Linked DNA regions of Homo sapiens: regions 2, 3, 4, 5 and 6 are each linked to region 1. The links are contacts of gene promoters, found by promoter capture Hi-C in human tissues and cell types (Jung and others, 2019). All regions are on one chromosome and are shown on one strand. The core of a region is centred on a gene start or on the middle of the fragment in contact, and the rest is flanking DNA. Distances in the headings are between cores, read along the strand shown.

Region 1 (2,949 bases), core at 135-2,634:
TCCATCTCCCGGACTCAAGCAATTCTCCTGCTTCAGCCTCCCGAGTAGCTGGGATTACAGGTGTGTGCCACCACGCCCGGCTAATTTTTATATTTTTAGTAGAGATGGGGGTTTCACCATGTTGGCCAGGCTGGTCTCGAACTCCCGACCTCAGGTAATCCGCCCACATCGGCCTCCCAAAGTGCTGGAATTACAGGTGTGAGCCACCACGCCCAGCCCATGGATTGCTTTCTACTGCTTCTCCCTGCCCACCATCTCTCCAGCGACAGGGGACCACATCTCCTGGGGCTGGAAAGGAAGGCTCTTCTGCCTCAGCGTTTTAGGTGCTTGTAAACCCTATGCCTTGGTCATGGCTTTGGTGGGATACCTAGGGGCTGGGGCATCAGAGAATGGAGAAGAGTAAAAAAACAACCACTACCAAAAAACCCCATCCTCCCAAACCCTAACATCCCCCCGGGCATTCTCCTGCACCCTGGGAGCATTAGGCGACCTTTTTCTTTCCTCCCCTTGTGCCAGGACTAGAGAACTTCTGGAGCTCTCTGTCCTCTTCTGGCTTTCAGGCCGTGTTGAGTCCAGGCCCGGGGATACGGGAAGAGAATCTGGAAGTTCACTACCAGTTGGGTGGTGCCTCAAATTCTGGTCTTTCCACCAAATCTGGTGTCCCTTTACCTCTCTGACCCTCAGTCTCCTCCTATGTCAGAGGGAAGTCACAGCAGTTCTGGGAAGGAGGGCAGGCAGGCAGAAGGTGCCCTCGGGTTCTTCTCTGGCTCACACGGGATGGACAGGATGTGGGGGGAGGGGCTTAGTGCCACCTCAGTGACAAAATGAAGCCCAAGTCCCCAAACCCTAGCTTGCCTCCTGGACGGGCTGGAGAAGAAGGTGGGGGCCGCTCATCATTCCTTTCCTCTGCCCTGAGAAGAAACCTGGGAAGGCTGGGTTTCTCCCCAAAGAGGACAGAGGGTGGCGCGGAGGGCCCCGGCGGCCAGGCCAGCCCCGCGCCTACATCCCTGTCAGCTCCTGGGCCGGTGGGCGCCTGTCCGGCTGAGTGGGGTCGCTCTAGGGGGCGGCAGCGGAGTTTCAGGGCGCGGGGGGCACTGGGCGGGACCCTGGGATTCTGGGCGGTGGGTGAGGAGGGTGGAGACGGGACTCCGCGCCTGGGGGTGCGCGAGGGCGCCCCGCTCCCCAGAGCCACCAGTCCTGCGCGCCGCCGCGCGGTGCTGTCGCCGTGGCAACCGGCGCTGCGGAGGGGGCGGGGCACCGGCACCCCCGCGCTCCCAGGTCCCCAGGTCCGGCGGGGCTCGCGGGCCGAGGGGCGCGGGGCGGGGCCTCTGGGTCGGGGGCGGTGCCGCGCGGGCGGGGGAGGGGCGCGGCGGGAGGAGCCGGCGCGGCCCCGGCAGTGGCGGCAGAGGCTGGGCGGGCGGGCCCGGGAGCGGCGCAGCATCTGCGGGCGGCGGGGTAGGCGCGGGCGCGGGCGGGACTGGCTGGGTGCGCGGCTGCGTCCGCGGAGGGGGCGGCGGGCCTGGGCGACCCTGCACCTCTGGGCCGTGGGGACTGTGGGGTGGGGCGGGGGCCGATGCGGCAGGGGTGAGGCCTGGGGCCGGCGGGGTGACGGGGACCCGGCCCTGCGTGGGGAAGCCTCGGGGGGACAAGCAGAGACGCAGCCTGCTGGGAGCGGCCCAAGCTCTGCACCGGCCCGCGGCGGGAGCACAGCAGCCCCCTCCCGCCCCTCCTCCCGGGGGCTCCGAGGGGTGGTTATGGGGCGAGGGTCCTTGCGGGGCCCGGGCAGTGAAGGGCCTGGAGGCCCCAGAGTCTGTGCCAGGTCTGAGCCGCGGGGCGTGGGGGGAGGAGGGGCCTCGGCCGGGGCCCAGGAGACCCAGGACAGGTGGGCCTGGGGCCAGGTCCCTACGGAGAGGTGGCCGGGCCGGGCTCTGGCTTGCCGGGGTAGGGGCTCCGCTAGGGGCTGGAGTCCGTCCCTTCGCCAGCGCAGAGCCCCTCGGCCCGCATCTGCCAAGTGACTGAGGATCGAGCGACAGCGTAGTGGGGCGGAGGGGCTGGAGGCACGGCCGGAAAGGGTGAGCGGCGCCGTGGCTCCCCCGCTATTTATTTGGCCCCGCCACGCGCGGAGAGGGAGGAAATTCTCAGGCTGCGGCTGCAGCTAGGGGAGGCCCAGGTGGGCCTGGAATGGGCCCAGAGAGGGCTTCCTGGGTCAGACGTGTAGATCCAGTGGACGTGAAAACCGGGTGAGTGTCCCGGTGGGACCCAGAGCGCGGGGAGGCTTGGAGGCAGGGGCATGGGCTGAGGACCCTCAAGGCACCCTCCTCGCGACCTGTCAGAGCTCCGAGGGGTGGGGGTGTCCTGTGTGTGGCTGTGGGGATCCTGGGCGGCGGGTGCTGGGTGGGGGCAGGGGTGGGAGTGCAGAGTTCAACGCTTTCCCGGATCGGTGGGGCCTGCGGTGTCACCAGGGCAGTCCGAGCGCCCGACTGTCACGGGGACATTAAATTTTATGCCTTTGTCTAGACACGGCAGTAAACGGAGCCCCAGGCCTGGGGCTGTGGAGGGGGTGAGGGGCTGGCTGGGAGTAAGCCTGTCAGTGACTTTGGGGTGGGTGCGGGTGTGCGGGCCTCCATTGTCACCCAGGTGTGCACAGGCCCAGGTGCGGGGACTCCGACAGCACGGCCATGAGGACCAGTGCCAGGTGTGTGACAGAGGTGCAGGGGCCTGTGGAAGCCCGACGGGCCTTGGTGGACGGGCTTCCCGAGATTCGAGGGCAGCCACAGGCATCGCCCTGGCGCAGAGGAGCAAAGCAGGGTGGCTCTGCCGGGGCAGAGGGTGGGGGACAACACCTCGCCAAGGCAATGCGGAGCCATGGGGAGCAGGGCAGGCAGTGGCCACGCGCCCAGGATGGTGGACAGGAGGGGAGACCGAGCCTGCCCGTGCAGGGAGGAGGGG
Region 2 (2,700 bases), core at 70-2,569, 860 kb after region 1:
GCCAGATGCAGAAAGACAAATGCTGCATGATCTCATTTACATGTGGGATCTAAAATATTCAAGCTCTTGAAAGCAGAGAGTAGAATAGTGGGTCCCAGGACCTGGGAGGTGAGGGAAATTGGGTGATGTGTGTTAAATTGTACAGAGTTTCAGTTGTGCAGGTTGGATGAGTTCTGGAGATCTAACGTACAGCAATGGTCCTATAGTTAATACTGTATTGTAAAAATGATTGTTGCTGAAAGGGTAGATCTTAGGTGTTCTCATCAGACACTCACTCATGCAGTAAATTAAAAAAAATAATAAAATGGTAGCGCTGTGAGGTGATAGAAATACAAATTACCTGACCACCATGCGTATTTCACAATGTGTATCTGATATGGTTTGGATTTGTGTCCTGCCCCAAATCTCATGTTGTATTATAATCCCCAGTTGTGAAGGGGTGACCTGGTGGGAGGTGACTGGGTCATGGAGTGGGTCTTTCATGAATGGTTTAGAACTGACTCCTGGTGCTGTTCTCATGAAAATGTGTGAGTTCTCACAAGGGAATCCCCTTGAGGTTACTGTCCTGAGTCTGACTGGAGAAGACTCACCAGGCACCCCTGAGCTTCCTCACGACTCTGATGCTGGTGACCATGGTTGAGGACCTTTCATTCCCATAGGTGGCAATATACATATTGTGCATGTGAGAACGAGTCCTCATATACAATGATTAAAAAAATGTAGAGATGACATTGGTGGGCACAGAAATCTAAAATTAAAGAGTTTCCCTAGAGAAACTGTCAGAAGCAGAGGAAGTCCCAAATCCTGACAGGAAACAAACCCCAGCCTCCATGTGCACCTGCTCTGGGGTTGACTCTGATGAGTGGGTCCTGAGCGCCCCCTGCAGCTGATTTCCCCCAACGTTCCTGCAGGAGGTTTGTGTCTGGGCTCACACTTCCGACCTCTCACAGTGTTTCTCACACAGTAATACACAGCCGTGTCCTCGGCCCTCAGGCTATTCGTTTGCAGATACAGGGTGTTCCTGGAATTGTCTCTGGAGATGATGAATCGGCCCTTCACAGAGTCTGCATAGTGCGTCCTACTGCCATTCCAACTAACACCCGATACCCACTCCAGCCCCTTTCCTGGAGCCTGATGGACCCAGTTCATGTCACTGTTACTGAAGGTGAATCCAGAGGCTGCACAGGAGAGTCTCAGGGATCCCCCAGGCTGTACCAAGCCTCCCCCAGACTCCACCAGCTGCACCTCACACTGGACACCTGCAAACACAGAGACACCCTGGTCAGAAACTGCCACACAAATCCACTGTTTCTCTCACTCATGTCCACTCACTCAATATCCTTAGTTCTTCATGAATCACCTTTTAAAATAGCAGCAAGAAAAACCCAGCTCAGCCCAAATTCCATGGTAATTTGTTTGTTGCTGATGACAAAGTGGAAACACCTGAGAATCCCAGGGCTGGTGCTTCTCTCCCAGGGCTGCAGGGTCAGGACTGGGCTGCTTTTTATCAGGAAAGGGGGGGCCCTATTTGCATGTCTCCTATTTCACAGCGAGCTCTGAAGTGGGACACCTGAGGAGAGGACTGAGCCCAGAGTAATGAGAGTGAAACAACAAGCCTGAACAACTACAAATAAAGAAAAAAAAACACACTTGAACATATCAGAGTTGATGTCACAGAGCAAACATAAACTGTAAATTTGAGGAGATATAGCTTGGCAGGGAGACCCAGGATGCATATATGAGTGTGCCTGGGGAAGGTGCCGCTCCATGGCATTTAAGCTAACCTCAAAACATTTAGAGTTCCTTGAGGATGTACGCATTAATGGTGCTAGAGTGTGAAGCTTCTAATGCCATGTGTTGTTGCAGGCTTTCCTTACGAAGTTGGGAAATATCCCAGATGACCACACACTCACCCAAGGTGACCTCACACATCCCCAAGGTCACCTCACATATGCCCTGAATCACCTCACGCATCCCCAATTTCACCTCACATGTGCCCTGAGTCACCTCACACATCCCCAGTGTCACCTTACACATCCTGCAGGTCACCTCACACATCCACCAGGTCACCTCAAACATTTCCCAGGTCACCGCACATATACCCCACATCACCTCAGACACACCCTGGTCACCTCATACATACGTCAGGTCACCTCACGCTCACCCAAGGTCACCTCACACATCCCGCAGGTCACCTCGTAAATCCCCCAGGTCACCACATACATGCACCAGTTCACCTCACACATTCCTCAGGCACTTCACACCTGCCCCTGTTCACCTCACACATCCCCCAGGTAACCTAACACATGCACCAGGTCACCTCACATGCACCCAGGTCACTGCACACATGCCCTTTGTCACCTCACACATGCCCCAGGTCACCTCACGCATTCCCCATGTCACCTCAAACGGTCCCAGGTCACCATACACATTCCACAGGTCACCTCACATGTGCCCTAGGTGACTTCACCTGTACCCACCTCACACATTTCCAGGTCCCCACAGATGCCCCAGGTGACCTCATACCTCCTTAGGTCACCTCACACACACCCACATCACCACCAATCCCCGATGTCACCTGACATGTGCCCAAGTCACCTCACACACACCCCCAGGTCACCTCACATCCATCCTGGATCACCTCACACTCACCCGAGGTCAGCTCACACATATCCCCCACGTCACCTCACATGTGCCCCA
Region 3 (2,913 bases), core at 44-2,543, 760 kb after region 1:
CAGGACTGGATCCACCACAAACAACCTCTACGAAGGCAGTACCAAAGATGGGGAAAGATGGGGTTGGAACCCCATTCAGAGTCCCCACTAGGGCACTTCACAGTGGAGCTACAGAAATGCAGCCACAACCCTCAAGATCCCAGAATGGTAGATCCAAAGGCAGCTTGTACTCCCAACCTGGAACTACTTCTGGCACTTGACTCTGGCCTGTGTTATTAGCCCCATGGAATGTGCCCAGCCATAAGGATGAGATGCCTGAGGATTTTGGGACCCACTTTGTCCTGGTGTACCCTGACTAAGAACATAAAGTCAAGATAGATTATTTTGTAGCTTTAAGATTTAATATCTGTCCTGCTAGGCTTTAGGTGTGTGTGGGGCCTTTGGCCAATTTATTCCTTTTGTATTGACAATATTTACCCAATGGCAATATTGCACCTTGGAAGTACATAACTCTTTAAAACATTTTGCCAGCACGCAGCTGGAGGGAAATTGCCTTAAGACCCTGGCGAGACTTTGTAATTTTCAGTTGGAGGTTGATCAAGTTAACACTTTTGGGAACTATTTTTAAAAAAGATGATTTTGCAATCTTACAAGGATTTGAGACCAGGGGACACAAGAGTGAAATGCTACAGTTTAGGTGATTGTCCCTTCCAAATCTCACGGTGAAATGTGATCCAAAATATTTGAGGTGGGTCCTAGTAGGAGTTTTTGGATTGTGGGGAAAAGATCCTTCAGGTATGGCTTGGTATCAACCCCATGGTAATTAGTGAATTATTTCTTTATTAGCTAATTTGAAATCTGATTGTTAAAAACAGTCTAGCGACCCTCCTCCCCTCTTCTGTGCCCCCTCTCACCACAGGACACTGCCTGCTTCCCCTTTGCCTTCCACCATGACCGTAAGCTTCCTGAGGCCCTCACAAGAAGCAGATGCTGGTGCCATGCTTCTCACACAGCCTCCAAAACTGTAAGCCAAATAAGCCTCTTTTCTTTGTAAATCACTTGGCCTCAGGCATTAATTTATAGCAATGCACAGTAGACTAATACACTGTCCAAAGCAAGATACATATTCAATGCAATTTTTATCAAGTAACCAATATAATTGATTACATGTTTTAAAAAAAATCCTTAAATATATATGGAATCAAAAAACAGCCTGAATAGCAAAAGAAATCCCAAGGAAAAAGACCAAAGCTGAAAGCACCACATTCCCTGATTTCAAATTATACTACACAGATACAGTAAGAAAGACAGCATGGTACTGCTACTAAAAACAATAACAATAATAATAATGTAAAAGAATAGACAGCCAAGAAATAAAGACAAGTTTCTACAACCACCTGTTCTTTGACAAAACTGACAAAAATATGCAATGGAGAAACAACCCTCTATTCAGTAAGTGGTGCTGAAAAACTTAGACAGCCACACATAGAAGAATAAAACTAGACTTCTAGTTTTTCACCATAGACAAAAATTAATTGAATATGGATTCAATATTTAAATGTACAAACTGAAGAAAATGTAGGAGAAATTTTTCGGGACATTGGCCTAGGCAAATAAAATATGACTAAGACTTCAAAAGCATGGTGTGGTAGGTTTGGTTATTCATTATATTGAAAAATAAAGCTATCATATGCTCTGGTGATCCCACTTCTTGTCATATATTCAAAAGAAATAAAATTATTATGTCAAACACATGTTCACTGCAAGATTATTTATAATAGTGTAGATTTGTAAAATAATTTAATGACCACAGATTGATGAATGTGTAAAGAAAATGTGTACACAGAAAACTGAATTTTATTAGGCTTTGAAAAGAAGGAAATTCTGACATTTGCAACAACAGGGATGGGGCTAGAGGACATGATGCTTAGTGGAATAAGCCAGATGCAGAAAGACTTAATGATCTCATTTACATGTGGGATCTAAAATATTCAAGCTCTTGAAAGCAGAGAGTAGAATAGTGGGTCCCAGGCCTGTGAGGAGAGGGAAATCAGATGATGTCGGTCGAAGGGTAGAGGTCCAGTTGTGCAGGGTGAATGAGTTCTGCAGATCTAATGTACTGCAATGTTCTTGTATTTAATGCTGTATTGTAAATGTGATTTTTGCTAAACGGGTAGATCGTAGGTGTTCTCATGAGACACACACACATACACACACATGTAGTACATTTTAAAAAAATAAAATGGTAGCTCCATGAGAAAATGGATATACAAATTACTTTGGCCATGATGAGCATTTCACAATGTGTATCTGATGTGGTTTGGATCTGTGTCCTGCCCCAAATCTCATGTTGTATTATAATCCTCAATTGTGAAGGTGGGACCTGGTGGGAGATGACTGGGACATGGGGTGGGTCTTTCATGAATGGTTTAGAACAAACTCCTGGTGCTGTTCTCATGACAGTGTGTGAGTTCTCATAAGATCTAGTTGCCTAACAGTGTGTAGACCTTCCCTGCTTCCTGTGGCTCCTGGTCTGGCCATGTGACGCACCTGCTCCCCTTTGTCTTCTGCCATGATCCTAACTTTCCTGACTCTCCCCAGAAGGAGAAGCCACTACACTTCCTGTACAGCCTGCAGAACCGTGAGCCAATTAAACACACTTTTTTTCTCAAATCCCTCAGTCTCAGGCATTTTTTATAGCACCGTGAGAATGGACTAATACAACATCAAAACGTCAAGTGGGGCACCTTAAACCTATACATTATTAAAATATTTCAATTATACCTCAATAAAACTGAAAAAATTTAAGCTTATAATAAATACATACTTCATATTTTCTCAATAAAAAGAAGACAACATAGGAAAACTTACACTAAGACATTTGTAACAGCTTTGTTTATAATATTCATAAACTGGAAACAAATTTAAAGTCGATTTACAGGAAAATAAATCAAAATACTGTCATTTACTTAT
Region 4 (2,802 bases), core at 210-2,709, 780 kb after region 1:
ACTTCATAATCAAAGGACTAGTGAGCCCCAGGGCTGAGCACATAGAGGGCAGCAGGAGGTGAAGAGCCCACTCTGTGGTACTTAAGGAAGGGAGGGTATGGGATGAGGGTGATGTCTGGAGGGACCTAGAAAAGGATGAGGAGGGCAGAGAGTGCAGGTAGATGAGCGTATTCTAAGGAGAACTGTTATACTTCTAAACTTGGTTGGCTTCAGTGATTATGAAAAGAAGGGAACTGATTCACCAGACTTGGAAGACAGAAAGTAAAGGGACTTTCTTTTTCTGCATGGAGACTGAGGAAGATAAATGGCTTTCAAAGAAGAAGGGAAGGTGGAGAAACAGTCTGAAAAACAGGACACTGGAAGCCAAACAAAGTGGAGAAACAGAGCCTTTAAAGTGCTGTTTATTTTCCACAAACAGCAGATGAAAGAAAAAGAAACAAAACACCATGCATATGCTGAGTTAAAGTTAGAAAACATATACAATTGTTTGACTATTACAGCACAAAAACACAAAACTCTATTCATGGAAATAGTCTGTATTGAGGATATGCATTTTTTTTTCTAAGACAGGGTCTCACTCTGTCACCAAGGCTGGTGTGTGGAGGCACAATCATAGCTCACTGCAGCCTCAACCTCCCAGGCTTAAGGAATCCTCCCTCCTCAGCCTTTTAAGTAGCTGGTTGCACCAATCTCAGCTATTTCTTCTTTTATGTATAGAAAGCATCTCACCATGTTGCCAGGCTGTTCTAAAACTCCTGAGCTCAAGTAATCTGTCTGCCTCAGTCTCCCCAAGTGCTGGGATTACAAGTGTGATTTAAAAAATTTTACTATTTTAATAATAGTATTATTTTTAATAATTAAAATATATAAATAACCTATTTTAATAATTGTCCCGAGAGATCATTGCTAGTATTACTCAGAAAATACGCAGCAATAAAAGTTGCATTACATCCCTGTTCTAAGTTAGTGTTTTGTAGGTAAAAGAAATCATGGAATTAAAAGGAAAAATCAGACATCCTGGGGAAGACTTTTGCTTGACCAGGTCAGGAATTTCCAGGGTCTGAAAGGAAATCACAGCCTCTGAAGCTCCTGATGTGCAGCTGCCTCCTAAGAGAACCTGCATGTCCTGAGCGTCCCCTGGTGGTTCTGAGCGCCCCCTGGTGACCTGAGCCCAGAATTGTTGTCTTTAGCACCACCTATGTCCTGAGCGCCCCCTTGTGGTTCTGAGCACCCATTGGTGGTCCTGAGCGCCCCCTGTTGGTTCTGAGTACCCCCTCTTGTCCTGAGCGTCCCCGAGTGTTTCTGAGCGCCCCCTGGTGTCCTGAGCGCCCCCTGGTGGTGCTGAGCGCCACCTGGTGGTTCTGAGCGCCCCCTGGTGGTTCTGAGCGCCCCCTGGTGGTTCTGAGTACCCCGTGGTGACATGAGTGCAGTAGTGTTGTCTTGAGCGCCACCTAGTGTCCTGAGCGTCCCCTAGTGGTTCTGAGCACCCCCCTGGCGTCCTGAGCGCTCCCTAGAGGTCCTAAGCACCCCTTGTTTCCTGGCCACCCCATGGTGGTTCTGAGCAGCATCTACCACGCAGTTCCCTCCTGTCTCTCTGCAGAGATTTTTGTGTCTGGGCTCAGACAGATCTTCCCTCCCCTGTGTCCCTCACTGTAATATACGGCCTTGCCCTTGGCTTTCAGGTTGGTCCTTGTAAGGTAGACTGCACTTGAAAGGGTGTCACTTGGGAATGTTGATTTATCTGTACTCATGGAGAGTAACCCTTAGAACTCCCATATGATCTCTCACTGTTGCTACCCACACCAATTCCTGTTGTGAAGTGTGCTGGACCAAGCTCATGCTGCACCCAGTAAACCCGAAACCAGAGGCTTTGCAGGACAGTCTCAGTGAACTGCTGGGCTGTTAAATTTTTCTCCTTCTGACTCCATCAGTAAACATCACACAGGACTTCTGTGAATACAGAGGAAACAGACTGAGAACAGCCACAGCTGGACCTGATTCACAAGGCACACTAATATTGAGGGGGATGAGAAGGGAATCCAGATCAGTGCAGACCCCATGGTGTGGACACTAAGGAAGGGCAGAGACATGGGGTGGCTCCATACCAGGGCCTGAAGGAAGAGGGCATGAGCTGCCTTTCATGAGGAGGAGTGGGGACACATTTCCATGTCTTCATGTTTGTGGTCATGGGTACACTGCTCAGCACTGCTCATCCATCCTCTGTGTCTACATTTCGGGAGGGCAGGGTCAAAGGATTTCTGGGTCTGGATGCACAGGGTTATTCTGCCCATTACTCTTTTTTATTCTTTAATGTGGATACTGTTCAGGTATCTTCATAGTAGCAACATTATCAACAAATATGTCCAGTAAGAAAATAAAAATACATTTCCAGAGAAAATGGACACCTGTCTCTAACTGGTGCATTTAGAGCTGCAAATTACTGTTTTTGACAATAAGGCAAAGTTAGGTTACAACAAAAAAAATACAGATCTACACTTTATTAGGGAGGGGATTTATAATTACCATTATCTTGAGATCATTTTGCCACAAAACAATTCAACATTGAATATATGTGCCTGTGTAAGGAAACAGTAAATGTGGACATATGTGTACTTATCTGAGTGAAGAGTTCACATGGAGACATATTTGCTTGTCTGAGACAAGAGTCCACATGAGGAAAAGTCTGTTTTCTGAGGAAAGCGTAAATGTAAGGACATACATGGTAGTCTGAGGAAAGTGTCCATGTGGGGACATGTGTTTTTGTCTGAGGGAAGAATCCACATCAGTAAAGGTGTGTTTGTC
Region 5 (2,865 bases), core at 197-2,696, 600 kb after region 1:
CTGACTCCCTTGAGTGGACGTTTCTTCCCTGAAACAGCTTCACTACCAAGTATACTAAAGAGATGCTATGGAGCCGCTGTGGGGTTGGATTTCTTCCTGTCAGCCTGTCATGCAGGGTGTTTGGAATGATGTAGACCTTTAAACTTAGATGCTAATCTTTCCCAGTCTTGTTGAAATGGCTGGCCACCCCCAGTCCTGTTTCTCCCCTCCACTCACCTGAATGTCTCCAAAAACCCCATGAACCTAAAGACTCTCTTTTTCATGGATGACTCTGAGGATTCTCAATCTGGTCAGTGCCACAGTCAGAGGCAGCTAATGGAGGATTCTCAGTCCACTGATATGTTGAGCCCATAACATAGGACACATATCCAAGAGTGGACAATTCATGTCAGTGCCAATCAACATTTAATTCAAGGGGCATGATTTTCAGTGCATTGAAGTTTAAAAGCTTCATAATTCTTAATAGAGGCACAAACTGAATGGTTTGCTGAAGAAGTGAGCTCATGGTTAGAAGAAAGCTGACTGCACCCAGGAAGAGTCTCTTTAAGTAAAACACCTGAAACGTGATGTCCTGAAACCTTGTGAAAATTCATTTCCTTGAGTAAAAAAACAGGAAAGCTATTCTCAAATCATTGGAAGAAAACTTATCAGAAATTTTATCAACACAGCACTCGAATTCCAGTAAGTCAATCCTTGGGTTTATGTTTCACAACTCAAGAAGCAATAAAGAAATCTACATAATTGGAAGGCTGCTCCAACAGAGGGAATTTTGTCCTATTTAATTAATAGAATAGTATTCATTCAAAGACACTCTCCTGTGGAATCTATAACTTAAACAGATCTCTGCAACCTGGAAAAATTTTCTCACTTATTTTTCTCTAGACACCCATAAATGCAAAAACACATTTTGTGTGTATGTGCATGAGTGATCTATAGAAATACTTTGCATATTAATGAAAGTTTGGAAAAATGATAACTTCATCACTTATTGTGAACTCCCACTTCACTGGTTTCCGAAATTCTCTGCCTGTGTCATGGGACAATGGGTGCCTCTGAGAATATGCTGATTTTCAGACTGAACATGTTCTCCACTCCTCACTTGACTTCATGGTTTCTTGCTGACACTGATGTCTCTATGAATGAAAACCCAACACTGATATCCAGCAGATTTTCCTCTTATGAGATTCATATTCTCTCTATCTCTTTCTTTCTCTGCATGTCTCTAACTCCCTGTTTTTCTGTGCCATTACTATTTATGGCTGAATCATCCTGAATCCTGCCGACATACTCCATCTCACATTCTGCAAATATTCTGCCTCAAAGACAATTAGGGGCAAACTCATCCTTGCCCAAGGTGGGAAAACTTTCTGGACTTCCACTAGATTTATTAGAGCCTCATATGAGAACCATGATCAAACATTATTTGCTTTTGGATTATACCTCAAATCTAAAACTGTTCTTCGTAGCGGCTATGACATTCTACATTCCCATCATTACCATTATGCAAAACAGTGTGGTGGCTTCTAAATAAATTAAAACTGAAATACCATATGACCAGCGATCCAGCTTATGGAAATACACCTAAATGGGATGAAATTACCACCCTGTGAAGATACCTGCTCTCCTGTGCTTACTGCAGCGCTATTCACAACAGCCAAGATATGGAAACTAAGTGTCTGTCGATGGACAAATGGATAAAGACAATGTGGTATGTGTACACAATATAACATTATTCTGCCTTATAAAATAAAGAGATGCTGCCATTTTCCACAAGACAAACGGATTCCCACCACCACTAGCAATGCATTGTATCCATTGCAGCCCCTCCCTGAGAGCTGGCAGATCCAGGTCCAGTAGTAAGGACTGGTTGTGATGGAGTGGCCAGAAATGGTGTAGGTGAAGCAGAGGGTAAGTGTGTGCTCTTCAGGTCCAGGGCTGACTCCTGCAGCTGCTCCTGGGACAGGGCATGTGAATACATGGGGAATCAGTCCCCGTCAGTCACATGTACCTACACTCACCCCATAGACCCACATCTGACATCTGAGACACTCACCCTGGGGGAGCCATCACCAGGCACAGGAGAAGACACAGTAATGCCATCTTCTTCATGAACACAACTCTGCATTCCCCAGATGCCTTATCCCTGTCTGAGGGGAGAGCTGTTAGCTTCACAGTCCAAAAGCATTTTATACCCTGGAGCCTAAAGGATATTTTGGATGTGGCAAAGCCTTGTACTTATAAGAGAGAGGGACATAGGTCTGACTCCCTTTGGATTTGAATATGTTTTATTGTTGTCTGTCTATTTTCAGGTTGACATGAAGCACTTCCTTGCCAAAAACTACAGTCGTGACATTTAATAAAATTTGCTTTATTCCTATTTTCCCGCCTGTGACATTTGAACTTCTGTATCAAGTGAGCAATGTGCATACCTTACAGGAGAAATTACAAAATAACTCTCTAAGTCATCAGTATCACACGAATGCTACCCTGTCCTTACTGCCAAATATCTTCTGGAAAGATTTAAGTAAAAATAAATGATAAGTTGCATTCTTAAATTAAAAGTAGCATAACGTTCAGAAACTCATGAAATCCCTTTGCCAAAGGTACTCCCACTAGAACTTACAGCCCAAGGTCTCCTTCCTCAAGGACACAGACATTCTCACCCTATGACTTGATTCATCAAAAGCCCATGTATTTCCCATTTTACCTTCAGCATTATACTCTGATTCATCACATGCCAATACAGCGAAGTATTTTAGGGGACCGATGTGCTATGCAGAAATATTCAACAGGATGTTAAAAATGTCCTAAATAGTTTCTTTACTGCCATCAGCTTGTAAATTATTTATTTTCCAAGAGACATCG
Region 6 (2,700 bases), core at 55-2,554, 640 kb after region 1:
GTAATTTGTTTATTGCTGTTGACCCAATAGAAACACCTGAGAATCCCAGGGCTGGGGCTTCTCTCCCAGGGCTGCAGGGTCAGGGCTGCGCTGCTTTTCATCAGAAAAGGGAGGGTCCTATTTGCATGTCTCCTATTATATAGCAAGCTCTGAAGTGGGACACCTGAGGAGAGGACTGAGCCCAGAGTAATGAGAGTGAAATAGCAAACCTGAACAACTACAAATAAAAGAAAAAAAAAAACCTTCAACATATCAGAGTTGATATCATGGAGCAAACATAAACTGAAAATTTGAGGATAGGGGTTGATAGGGAGACCCAGGATGCATATATGAGTGTGCCTGGGGCAGGTGTCGCTCCATGGCATTTAAGCTAACCTGGAAACACTTAGAGTTCCTTGAGGATGTGCGCATTAACGGTGTTGGAGTGTGAAGCTTTTAGTGCCATATACTGTTGCAGGCTTTCCTTACGAAGTTTGAAATATCCCAGATGACCTCACACTCACACAGTGTGACCTTGCACATCCCCAAGGTCACCTCACACTCACCCAAGGTGACCTTGCACATCCCCCAGGTCACCTCACATGTGCCCTGAGTCACCTCACACATCCCCAATGTCACCTTACACATCCCCCAGGTCACCTCACACATTCCTGTGGCCACCTCACACAAGTCCCTATTCACCTCACACATCCCGCAGGTCACCTCGTAAATCTGCTAGGTCACCACACACATGCACCAGGTCACCTCATGCATTCCTCAGGCACTTCACACCTGCCCCTGTTCACCTCACACATCCCCCAGGTAAACTAACACATGCACCAGGTCACCTCACATGCACCCAGGTCACTGCACACATGCCCTTTGTCAGCTCATACATTTCCCTAGGTCACCTCACACATCCCCCAGGTCAACTCAGATGTGCCTTAGGTGACCTCACATGTGCTCAGGTCACCTCACACGTCAGGGGGGTCACCTCACATATACCCCATGTCACCTCACACACACTCCTGCTAAGCTCACACACCCCCCACGTCACCTCGAATGCTCCCAGGTCACCTCACACATTCCCCCAGGTCACCTCACACATTCCCCATGTCACCTCACACGTCCCCCAGGTCACCTCACACGTCCGCCAGGTCACCTCACACATGCCTGAGGTCACATCATACATATCCAAGTCACCTCACGAATTCCCCATGTCACCTCATACATGTCCAGGTAACCTCACACGCACCCAGGCCACCACACATGCACCCTGGGTCACCTCACATGTGCCCAAGTTCACTGCACACATACCCCCAGGTAACCTTACACCTCCCCCAAGTCACCTCACTGTCACGTGACCAGGGCACCTCACCTTCATACAGGTCCATTCACACATGCTATCATACATGCATACATTATGGAATTGTTAATCAAGCTATTTAACATATCCAGCACCTCATAAATGTATTTCTTTTTTTTTTTGAGACTGAGTCTCACTCTGTCACCCCGGTTGGAGTGCAGTGGTACGATCTTGGCTCACTGCAGCCTTTGCTTCAAGCAATTCTCCTGTGGTGAACACCACGCCTGGCTAATTTTTGTGTTTTTAGTGGAGACAGGGTTTCACCATCTTGGCAAGTCTGGTCTTGAACTCCTGACCTTGTGATCCACCCACCTCGGCCTCCGAAAGTGCTGGGTTTACAAGTGTGAGCCCCCGCTCCCGACCTGTATAATTTCTTAGTGGGAAAAAATTTTAACATTTGCATGTTTAGCCATTTTGAAATATATAATGCATTCACAGCCATATTTTCCATCTTGTGCATTAGAACACTGTAACTTACTCCTTCTGTCTAACTGGAACATTTTACACTTTGACCACAATCTCTCCTTTTCCAGTCCACCCCTCCAGCCCCTGGTAACCAACATTCTATTCTACTTCTGTGAGTCTACCATTTAAACAAACTACAGTGAAATCACGAATCACTTGTCTTCTGCGCCTGCTTGTTGCACTTCACGTGTGGTCCTCTAGAGTCATGATTGCTATCGCATTTCAAAACCAATCATGCCTGTTCAAGAGTCCGCCAAAGTCTTAACTCATTTGAGCCTTAACTCAAAAGTCCACAGTCCAAGGTCTCATTTGAGATGAGGCAAGTCTCTTCCATCTATGAGCCTGTAAAATAAAAACCAAGTCAGTTACTTCCTAGAAAGAATGGGAGTTCAGGCATTGTGTAAATACAGCCATTCCAAATGGAGAAATTGGTCCAAACTACAGGTCCCATGCAAGTCTGAAATCCAGCTGGGAAGTCAAATCTTAATGTTCCAAAATAATCTTCTTTGACTCCATGTCTCAAATCCAGGTTACCTGATGTAACAAGTGGGTTCACATGGTCTTGGGAAGTTCTGCCCCTGTGACAGAACTTTTTTAAAACTTTTCAAATGAAAAGTTTTAAAAAACTTTTGCAGGGCACAGTCTCCCTCCTGGCTGCTTTCACGAGCTGGCATTGAGGGTATGTGGTTTTTCCAGAAACATGGTGCAAGCTGTCAGTGGATCTACCATTCTGGGTTCTGGAGGGCAGTGGCTTTCTTCTTACAGCTCCACTAGGTGGTACACCAGTAGAAACTCTGTGTGGGATTTCCGACCCCACATTTCCCTGCCACACTGGGACTAAAGGCTTGTGCCACAATACCTGGCTAATTTTTGTATTTTTAGTAGAGACG

Evidence for each region. Contacts are between HindIII fragments. The study calls those that stand out against the background at their distance.
Region 2: a contact is called between a fragment that was not itself captured here and the fragment with the promoter of TMEM121 in region 1, in 1 of the 25 tissues and cell types used here (lymphoblastoid cells).
Region 3: a fragment that was not itself captured here is called in contact with the fragment with the promoter of TMEM121 in region 1 in 1 of the 25 tissues and cell types used here (lymphoblastoid cells).
Region 4: a fragment that was not itself captured here is called in contact with the fragment with the promoter of TMEM121 in region 1 in 1 of the 25 tissues and cell types used here (lymphoblastoid cells).
Region 5: a fragment that was not itself captured here is called in contact with the fragment with the promoter of TMEM121 in region 1 in 1 of the 25 tissues and cell types used here (lymphoblastoid cells).
Region 6: a fragment that was not itself captured here is called in contact with the fragment with the promoter of TMEM121 in region 1 in 1 of the 25 tissues and cell types used here (lymphoblastoid cells).

What each region holds. Positions count from the first base shown.
Region 1 is chr14:105,525,199-105,528,147 of GRCh38, forward strand. TMEM121 (transmembrane protein 121) reads left to right here and starts at 1,385. Exons shown (of 2, transcript NM_025268.4): 1 at 1,385-1,455. The HindIII fragment of the contact is 20,488 bases long and covers 1-2,949 here.
Region 2 is chr14:106,388,438-106,391,137 of GRCh38, forward strand. It overlaps IGH and IGHV3-35. Among named protein-coding and RNA genes, the nearest start is that of LINC00221, 93 kb to the right of the region's middle. The HindIII fragment of the contact is 6,618 bases long and covers 1-2,700 here.
Region 3 is chr14:106,282,122-106,285,034 of GRCh38, forward strand. It overlaps IGH. Among named protein-coding and RNA genes, the nearest start is that of LINC00226, 4.1 kb to the right of the region's middle. The HindIII fragment of the contact is 4,391 bases long and covers 1-2,913 here.
Region 4 is chr14:106,307,763-106,310,564 of GRCh38, forward strand. It overlaps IGH and the pseudogene IGHVIII-26-1. Among named protein-coding and RNA genes, the nearest start is that of LINC00226, 21 kb to the left of the region's middle. The HindIII fragment of the contact is 7,257 bases long and covers 1-2,802 here.
Region 5 is chr14:106,125,337-106,128,201 of GRCh38, forward strand. It overlaps IGH. Among named protein-coding and RNA genes, the nearest start is that of LINC00226, 160 kb to the right of the region's middle. The HindIII fragment of the contact is 3,613 bases long and covers 1-2,865 here.
Region 6 is chr14:106,165,658-106,168,357 of GRCh38, forward strand. It overlaps IGH. Among named protein-coding and RNA genes, the nearest start is that of LINC00226, 120 kb to the right of the region's middle. The HindIII fragment of the contact is 8,876 bases long and covers 1-2,700 here.